Linked DNA regions of Homo sapiens: regions 1 and 3 are each linked to region 2. Evidence: promoter capture Hi-C in 16 types of primary human blood cells and fetal thymus (Javierre and others, 2016). All regions are on one chromosome and are shown on one strand. Each heading gives the region's core, a stretch centred on a gene start or on the middle of the fragment in contact. The rest is flanking DNA. Distances are from core to core; before and after follow the strand shown.

Region 1 (3,096 bases), core at 197-2,696, 4.7 Mb after region 2:
GATTCTAGTCATCCACTTAGGAAGAAGAGGGTGTGGCAAATCTGCAGCCTAGGAAAACACAAACTCAGTTTCTTCGTAATAGATACTGATTCGTTTTGTTTACAAAGATTTTAAAAAACAGTTATGCATTCAAATACTTTAAAAACGAAAATAACTTTATGGTTTGATTTATTTCCGTTGAATTTTAAAGAACTTTGTAGCAAGGTTTAAGATTGCTTAAAGAGCCTGAGTTCGGATTCCTAAAATAGTGCATTGGGAAGGAAGCATAAATCTCTAGGATATTTTCTTCACATTATCTTCAGACATGACCAAATGAAGTGTAACTACCCTTACACTCTAAGAGAATTAAACTATAATGACATATGTGGCATGAAACTTTAGTCTTTCTCTGGAAAAAACGGGAGGAGGGAAGGTTTGGAAGAACTAGAGGATACTAGTTTCATCATGAATTTGGTGATTTGTTCCAAAGTAAATTGCAATAAAAATGAGGGGTGGGGAAAAATGATGGAAAGATAGCTGTGAAGAGCTTTACTTAAAATTGTCTTAGCTGTTTAGCTAGGAACTGTAATTAGAAGGACTGGAGGATGTATTCCGCTGGCTTTATTCTCCAGGCTCTACGGGCCCTCCAATTTGAATAAACCTGGAAAACTCTCCTGACCTCTATTTCTTTGACAAAACATCTTTCTTTCGTGGTGACTTCCAAGGGAGGAAATTGGTACCCCAAGCTAGCCGTGAGGACCCCACCACATGCCCAAGGCATTGAACGCCAGACTCCCTAAGGACTCAGGGATTCTAAAAGTCCCCTCTCAAATCAGCGCCTAAAATACGCCTGTACAGCCACGCGCTACCGCTCCCAGCAGCGCGGGACTTCGGGACAGGGACAAGGCGGACGCTAGGCGTGCGCCCCCGGGGAGCCCCCACGTTCCGGCCACGCCCACCCTGGCCCTGGGCAGCCGCGCCCGGGAGGCCTGGCACCGAGGCGGGCGGGTCCCCGAGTTAGGGGCCCGCGAGTCGGCTGGGCGCCCCCGCCTCTGCCCGGGCAGTGCCCCGCCGAGTGCTCAGAACTGCGGACAAATAGGCTGGAGGGCCGGGCCGCGGAAGGCGTTCCCACACCGGCCAGTCTCCGTCCACCAGGAAGCAAACTCCTCGTACCTCCCTGGGGACCGAAAACTGCCGGTGCCGCCGCACCCGTCGCCGCCGCCGCCTGCTCATGGAGAGCCCGGGCTGCCGCCGCCGCCGCCGCCGCCGCTGCCTCATCTATGAGTACCGCCGGCTGTCTCGGCCTCCCCCGGCGTGAGTTCTGGGCTCTGGCATGGCCTCCATGGCAGCCGCCGCGGCGGGAGCCACAGCAGCTCCAGCGCCCAGGCCCAATCTCACTGGACCCACGGAGCCAGGACAGTGGGACACGTCGCTTCTTATTACGGAGGAAGATTCGGCACGACCTCCGCCCCCCTCCCCCCAACCCCCCCGTTTTCAGCCGCCTGACAGCGCAGCTGCGCAGGCGCGAAGACGCCCCAGCCTAATGTGCGTGTGTCGGCTGTGTATACAGCATCCAGATTCGCCCAATGGGAACCAGGATCAGGTGTGGGGGGCGGGACCTCGCAGAGAGGGGCGGGGTTCCACTGGTAGAAGGTGGGTGGGGAAGCCGGAAGTGGGCAGAGTTTGCACGGAGGCGGAGCTTTATTGGCAAACCTGATTGGCTTTTTGAGGTTTGTACCATTTTAGGACTTGATTTTAGTTTGCTTCTGGGTCTTGTTTTCTCAAATTCTTAACCTAGAAAGAAAGCTTTGTTTTCTCAGTAAATTACGGTTTTTTAAGCGTTTAAGTATTTACTTAGAAAACAGTTGAATTGATCTGTTAAATGCCAGCTTTAGTGTTCAAGTTAATTATTGGCCAATATACTGTAACTTACAGTGGAAGTTAACCCCATTTTGAAAAATTAGATTGTTTTAATTCCATTGTGAAGTTGAAAAAATTGGGTTTTGGAGATAATAAGGTCCCACACAGCAAGTGACGGAGCTGGAAATTACAGTTAGGACAACTTAATGCTAGTTTGTGGGCTCAACCACTATTTCTGTTTATTAGGGCCGAGTTTTTGTATCTCCCGTAAAGAAGCAAGGCCCTGTATGGCTCTGCATCTGGAGAACACAGGCCACCCTGCAAAAACTACCTCTCCTTGCAAGTAGGCATGGAGATCTGGTTGAGATTTTCCCCATCCAGCCTTTCAACAAATAATGAGGGTCTGGAAAGTTAGCTCTAACGTTCAGAACACGTGAGGGCTAATGAGAGAGCTCAAGGCTATCCTAGTAAATCAGTGTGGTTTTCCGTCACAGGCTGAGCCTGGGAGAGGCTGGATGCCTTCTTGACCGGTGTGATGGTCGGCCAAAGCTATGGAGGGGAACTTCCTCATGGATCTCTCTAAAAAAGTCTAGAAATGGAAGAGAGACTTCCATTTCTTGAGTTTTGGCTCTGCCCAAAAAAGAATAATTAATAGCTCTGGCAAAGCCTGCTCTTTTTAGTTTCCTGTTTTTTCTTATTTCTTATGGTATTTTATAGATGAGGAAACTGAGGCTCTTAGAGATAAACTAGTGTGTTGGAAAACTTGCAAAAAGTTCACTCTCAATATTAATCCTCTCCTACAGGTAGAAAAGCCCTTTAAAAATGTTTGTAAATGTGGATTATGTGTTTAATTATAAATCTCTCACAAGACATGGAGTTCATTTTATACTGATTAGGTCATTCTCTTCCTGAAAACAGCCATAGTATGGTGGATGACACCATTTCTGGAGAATAGTATTGAGATTGCTCATTAAACTCTGCCGAGTCTCAGCTAGATGGAGGAAGCATGGATTCCTTGAATACTTGGATAACTCACAAACATCACTGAGGCCTTTAACTGAAATTTCCATTCTGCATCTTTTCCACCGTCTTCAAAATCTGACATCTGAGTTGTAGGGTTTTTTTAGATATATTTACTGAAGTATAATTGGCATAGAATATATAGAGCATACTTAAAGTGTATAATTTTTATCAGTTTTGACATATGTATAACCCCTTAAACCATCACTGTGATCAAATGAGTATGCCCATCACACT
Region 2 (3,220 bases), core at 343-2,842:
TCATTCCTATCACTAGGCCTTTTGTCCATCTTCTATTCTAGTTACACAAAGTTGTTCACCTTACCTTGGCTCAAGCGCTTCCTTTCACCAGGCATTCCCTTCTGTCAAGTGCTGCCTGTAGAAATCCCATTCTTCAAGGTCTACCTCAAAGGTCTCTCAAATGTACCTCGAACTGGAATTAATTTCTCTTCTTGGCTCCTTTCGTACTTCATGAGCACACCCATGATTTAATACAGAATATTTTCCTTAGCTGTACATATGTTGTTGGTGCACAAACGTTGTATGTTGAAGTCTTGGAGATAATCCTGTTTCCCACAGATTAGAAAATTTTGAGGGCAAGGAGCAAGTTATATCTAGTTTACAAATCTCTGACTCCCCTCCTTCCTTAATCATATAATACAATGCCTAACTTAATGATTGGGTAGGGGGACCCCACTAGAACCCTGACATAACATACCTTAAAGAAGTGTTGTATTTCAATTTATAAAAGTTTATATGTAAAAGTTTCTGGAATTGTTGCACCCTGTGCTACATTTTATAAATCTAGTTAAAGCTTTGATTTCAGAGCAGTTTTATCTGGAGGCATTATAAATGACCATATGGAATGTAGGTATCTTTCAGCAGAAATTCGTTTATTGACATTGGTTTTTTGCATTTTTGCATTTGCTTTTCATTACTTGTTTTGTCACCAAATTATCTGGTCAAAGCAACATACACTGCACATTACTTGTTTATTACTTTACATTCAGCCAATTACATTTAAGAATCAAATACACTAAATGCCAAAGAATCTCATTTTTTTTTGGAATGGTGTAGGTGTATTTCTTGGAGGAGTGTGTCAAAAAAATAAATTTGAAAACGTACTCTCTTTAACAAAATAAAAGCAAACCCTACCGTTGACTCGTGATCATTACAGCTGATTTTAAGTTGTTTTGTAAATTTATTCCAGTAGGTGTCACTGGTGAGTCGAGGAAAAACTCCTTTCCCAAGTGTAACGTTTTAATTAAAAGAAAGTAAAAGGTTTAATCAATAAAAAAGACTATGAGAATATTCATCTCTTGAGAGTCCAAAATTAACGTATTTATTGTTCAAAAGAGACGGGGTCTCGCTATGTTGCCCAGGCTGGAGTGCAGTGGCTATTCACAGGCGCGATCCCACTACTGATCAGCACGGGAGTTTTGACCTGCTCCGTTTCCGACCTGGGCCGGTTCACCCCTCCTTAGGCAACCTGGTGGTCCCCCGCTCCCGGGAGGTCACCATATTGATGCCGAACTTAGTGCGGACACCCGATCGGCATAGCGCACTACAGCCCAGAACTCCTGGACTCAAGCGATCCTCCAGCCTCAGCCTCCCGAGTAGCTGGGACTACAGGCACGCGCCACCGCGCCCGGCGGTCGGATACCGGCGCAGAATAGCACTAGAAGCTGTGGTATGGTGACGTCATCAACTGGGCCAGCCCACAACGCCTCTAAGATTTCATTTTACTCACCCAGCGAAACAACCTGACCACACTGCGCACGCGTTTCCTTTGAGCACTGCATTCTGGGTAAACTGTCTCAAAAATTTGAAGAGCGCATGCGTGGGCCAGCTTCTTCCTTTTACCTCGTTGCACTGCTGAGAGCAAGATGGGTCACCAGCAGCTGTACTGGAGCCACCCGCGAAAATTCGGCCAGGGTTCTCGCTCTTGGTGAGAAATAGTTTGTGATTTTGGGGAAGCGTTGCCGTGGAGCGCTAGGCTGCTTAAAATCTCAAGTAGAGGAGGCCACGGGCGGCACGAGGGAGCACGCCGACTGGGAGTCGCTGGTGCCGCCATTACAGGCCTGTACTGTGGCTTGGGAGTCCCGGGATGCGGGTAGTAGCCGTCTGAGTGCGGAGTCTTGTAATTTCTATGACCTGCAAAACCGCTGTCTCTTTTCTTACAGTCGTGTCTGTTCAAACCGGCACGGTCTGATCCGGAAATATGGCCTCAATATGTGCCGCCAGTGTTTCCGTCAGTACGCGAAGGATATCGGTTTCATTAAGGTAGGCGTCTGCAGGCGTACTCCATGTTGTTTGGGCAGAGAAGGTTGTGGGGGTTATTTTTTCCGCGAAAGACAAACGGACAGATCTTCCCTGGAGTGGTAATTCTGAGCATTCGACCAAGAGCTTTTCCTCTTTTTTTAGTTGGTAGCTGGTGACAGTGTTGATGGTTTGGGCAATCAAATTAATAGAATGGAGAAGGTGAAGGACTTAGTCTTTCCTACTCCCTTTTTTACCTAGATAGCTTAGCCAGTTTTAGGTGCCGTGTATTGTGTTTGGTGAAATTCACTTTAGAGAAGCCACTAAAATTGTTTTACATTTGTTTCATTTATCAATCTTGTAAGTACCTATTCTCTTTTTTTTTTTTTTAGAGATAGGGTCTCCCTCTGTCGCCCAGGTTGAAGTGCAGTGGCGTTGTTACGGCTCACTGCAGCCTCGAACTCCTCCTGGTCTCAGGCGATCCTCTTGCCTTGGCGTCCCGAGTAGCTGGGACTAAAGGCTCTTGCCACCACGCGCGGCTGTACCTAGATATTTTCTAACCAAATATATGTATTAACCGCTGACCCCAAGTTTTTTTTTTTTTTTTTTTGAGTCGGAGTCGCACTCACCCAACCTGGAGTGCGATGGCGTGATCTCCGCTCAGTGCAACCTCCGCCTCCCCGGTTCAAGCGATTCTCCTGCCTCAGCCTCCTGAATAGCTGGGATTACAGGCGCCTGCCACCATGTCCGGCTAATTTTTTTATTTTTAGTAGAGACGGGGTTTTACCATGTTGGTCAGGCTGGTCTCGAACTGCTGACCTCGTGATCCGCCTGCTTCGGCCTCCCAAAGTGCTGAGATTACAGGCGTGAGCCACCGCGCCCGGCCAACCCAAAATGTTTGAAAGCGTCATACACTGGAATGAACTTAAAGTTTGGGGCCGGAAAGACATTGTTAAGATTCAGCAAACAATGGTCTGCCATTTAGTGCTTCTATCTCTTGATCATCTTAGTCAAGCTAGTGTTTATATGAAACTTTTGACTGTGAAACTTTTGGCTTCTGAAAATCTTTTAAATAGTAGTTTGGGTTTTTTTTTTTAAGGTGAAAACGAATTTATTATTGGCTCTTTGAGATAAAAATCACCAGCTTTCTGATCAATTATTTTGTATTGGATAGTACTGTTCTATAATGATGTAAATTTTTTTTTTTGTTTTGAAATTGGGT
Region 3 (3,206 bases), core at 476-2,975, 3.1 Mb before region 2:
GGGAAGTTGAGGAGTGAATGATAAGTGAAGTCAGTGACTGCATACAGCTTGCTTTCAGGAATTTGAGGTAAAGAAGGTGAAGATGTTACGTGTCATGTCTTCCCCCTTCAGATGATTCTAAGCACCTTGAGACAAATGTCTAGTAATGTACCACGTGTGCAACCATATTCAGTAAATATTAATGACAGGAATGATTCTAATAAAAATATCAGCACTAAACCCATTAGGTTTTTACTTAGCCTTTCTTTGTACTAATTTATTTCCTTTAAATTGTTTTCTTCCAGTCTATTCAATGACAGAAATTGTATGGGTACTGAGAAGCTTCCCACAGAAATCCCCACATACCATTTTGAGACACTGGACTCAAGCCATTTCCTGCTTTGGTCATAAAAAAAAAAATAGTCGCTGTTATTTACACAGTAATCAGAATTCCATCAGGAAATGCTGTGTGCATTAAATCTAAGTCATGTTATTGTTATAATCACTAGTATTAGAAAAACAAGTTTGTGACCTTGTTCATCTCTAAAAAATTTAATGTTGTTTAGCAAAGTTGTAATGAATGGGAAGTTGGGCTTTCAGAAATCAAAGGTTGATCTATGTACCCTGTGGGTGCTCTTTAAATAGTTAATGAATGACTAATCAGTGATTTCATGGCCTCTAACACAGGTGAGACGATTGCCTGAGCAGGTATATTTGAAGAAGCAAACTCATGCAAAGGGAGTTTCCTTCTGGCCTGAAAGATTCTCATGGACACTTCAGTGATATTCACATCACACACATAAAACTGTATTTACTTATTCTAAAATCGCTTACAAATCTGAAACAAAACATTATAATTATCTAGACAATAAGGTAAAAAAAGTGGATACTTTTTCTAAGTTTGCTAGAAATTTATTCTGGGAAAGAGTTTGAGTTTTATGGAAAATAATTTCTATCATGAGAACACTGACATTTTTAAGCTCCCCCAGGTTACAGGTCATTGCATTAGGGTAAAATGTTAAGCTGATTCATATTCAGATTGCTTCCTTCTAAAATCATAGGCTTTATTAATTTCCTCTTTTCTTATTGTGTTTCTCATTTTTGATGGCCTAATCTTCATTTATTAGTACTGTGGCCAGTGAAAGATTTTCATTTATTCCACGAACATGTACAAAGACAAGATCCTTGTTAAGGATCTCTGGGAGTCTCAGGGACATTTGAAACACAATCCCTGCTCAAGAAGTTTAAAGATGTTACAATTCAGTGAAGAAATATGAAGTAGAAAATATCATAAAAGATTATATACTAATGCTGAAATGAACATGGGAGTGCAGATATTTCTTTGACATACAAATTTTATTTTTATTTTTAAGACAGAGTCTCGCTCTGTCACCCAGGCTGGAGTACAATGGCATGATCTCAGCTCACTGCAACCTCCGCCTCCCAGGTTCTAGAAATTCTCTCACCTCAGCCTCCCGTGTAGCTGAGACTACAGGCACACACCACCATGCCTGGCTAATTTTTTGTATTTTTAGTGTAGACGGGGTTTCACCATGTTGGTCCGGCTGGTCTTGAACTCCTGACCTCAAATGATCTGCCCGCCTCAGCTTCCCAAAGTGCTGGGTCAGGCGTGAGCCACCATGCCCAGTCTGACACGCCAATTTTAATACCTTTGTATATACACCCAGAAGTGGGATTGCTGGATCATATGGTAATTCTATTTTTAGTTGTGTGTGTGTTTTTTTTTTGTCTGCTTTGTTTTGTGAGATGGAGTCTCGCTCTGTTGCCCAGGCTGGAGTGCAGTGGCGCGATCTCGGTTCACTGTAACCTCTGTCTTCCAGGTGCAAGCAATTCTCCTGCCTTAGCCTCCAGAGTAGCTGGGACTACAGGCACGTGCTGCCACGCCCAGCTAATTTTTGTATTTTTAGTAGGGACGGGGTTTCACCGTGTTAGCCAGGATGGTCTCCATCTCCTGGCCTCATGATCTGCCTGCCTCGGCCTCCCAAAGTGCTGGGATTACAGGTGTGAGCCACCGTGCCCGGCCTATTTTTAGTTTTTTGAGGAACCTCCATACTATTTTTCAAAATGGCTGTACTAATTTACATTCCCACCAACAGTGTACAAGTGTTTCCATTTTTCCACATCCTTTCCAGCACCTGTTATCATTCATCATTTTGGCAATAGCCATTCTAACAGGTGTAAGGTGACATCTCATTGTGTCTTTAATTTGCATTTCCCTGATGATTAGAGATATTAAGCATTTTTTTCCTATACCTGTTGGCTATTTGTATGTCTTTTTTTGAAAAATAACTGTTCAGAACCTTTGCTGCTTTTTAAAAATCAGACTATTTTCATAACATTGATTTGTTTCTTATACTCCCATGTTCATTTCTGCATTATTTACAATAGCCAAGATATAGGAACAACCTAAGTGTTCATCGACAGATGAATGGATAAAGAGAATCTTGTATATATATGCCTACTATACAGCCATAAAGAAGGAAATTATTCCCAGTACTTTGGGAGGCCGAGGCGGGCGGATCACGAGGTCAGGAGATCGAGACCATCCTGGCTAACATGGTGAAATCCCGTGTCTACTAAAAATACAAAAAAATTAGCCGGGAGTGGTGGCGGGCGCGCCTGTAGTCCCAGCTACTTGGGAGGCTGAGGCAGGAGAATGGCGTGAACCCGGGAGGCGGAGCTTGCAGTGAGCGAGATCGTGCCACTGCACTCCAGGCTGGGTGACAGAGCGAGACTCCGTCTCAAAAAAAAAAAAAAAAAGGAAATTCTGTAATTTGTGACAATATGGATTAACCTAGAGGCCATGATACCAAGTGAAATAAGCCAGGCACAAGAAAACAATTACCACATAATCTCACTTACATGTGGAATCTAAAAAAGTTTATCTCATAGAAACAGTAGAAAGGTAGTCACCAGAGGCCGGTGGGCAGGGAGGATGGGGAAAGGGGAGATGTTGGTCAAAGTGCAAAGTTTCAGTTAGACTGCAGGAATAAGTTTTAGTGATCTAATGCACTGCATGGTGACCACAGTTAATAAGAATTGCAAAATTGCTAAAAGAATAATTTTTTAATGTTCTCATCAATGAAAAATGAAAAGTTGGTGAGGCAATGTATCTGTTAATAAGCTTTATTTAATCTTTCTACAATGTATGCATAGATCAAAACATCCCATTGTATCCTATAAATATACACAATTATTATTTGTCA

What was found. The method cuts DNA at HindIII sites, captures the fragments that hold promoters and counts their contacts. A CHiCAGO score of 5 or more calls a contact.
Region 1: a contact is called between the fragment with the promoter of DORIP1 here and the fragment with the promoter of RPS29 in region 2, in 2 of 17 cell types (naive CD4 T cells and M0 macrophages). The highest score is 8.4, in naive CD4 T cells.
Region 3: a fragment that was not itself captured here is called in contact with the fragment with the promoter of RPS29 in region 2 in 1 of 17 cell types (M2 macrophages); the score reaches 6.2 in M2 macrophages.

The regions. Positions count from the first base shown.
Region 1 is chr14:44,895,625-44,898,720 of GRCh38, reverse strand. It overlaps DORIP1 (dopamine receptor interacting protein 1), which reads right to left and starts at 1,446. Exons shown (of 5, transcript NM_001017923.2): 1 at 1,153-1,446. RefSeq lists silencers at 792-1,111, 1,132-1,261 and enhancers at 628-1,127, 1,752-1,801. The HindIII fragment of the contact is 3,873 bases long and covers 1-1,787 here.
Region 2 is chr14:49,584,752-49,587,971 of GRCh38, reverse strand. RPS29 (ribosomal protein S29) reads left to right here and starts at 1,592. Exons shown (of 3, transcript NM_001032.5): 1 at 1,592-1,687; 2 at 1,923-2,022. The coding sequence starts at 1,626. It also overlaps RN7SL1. RefSeq lists enhancers at 1,032-1,541, 1,414-1,913, 2,512-2,561. The HindIII fragment of the contact is 6,928 bases long and covers 556-3,220 here.
Region 3 is chr14:52,698,224-52,701,429 of GRCh38, reverse strand. No RefSeq gene overlaps it. Among named protein-coding and RNA genes, the nearest start is that of ERO1A, 4.3 kb to the right of the region's middle. The HindIII fragment of the contact is 2,803 bases long and covers 324-3,126 here.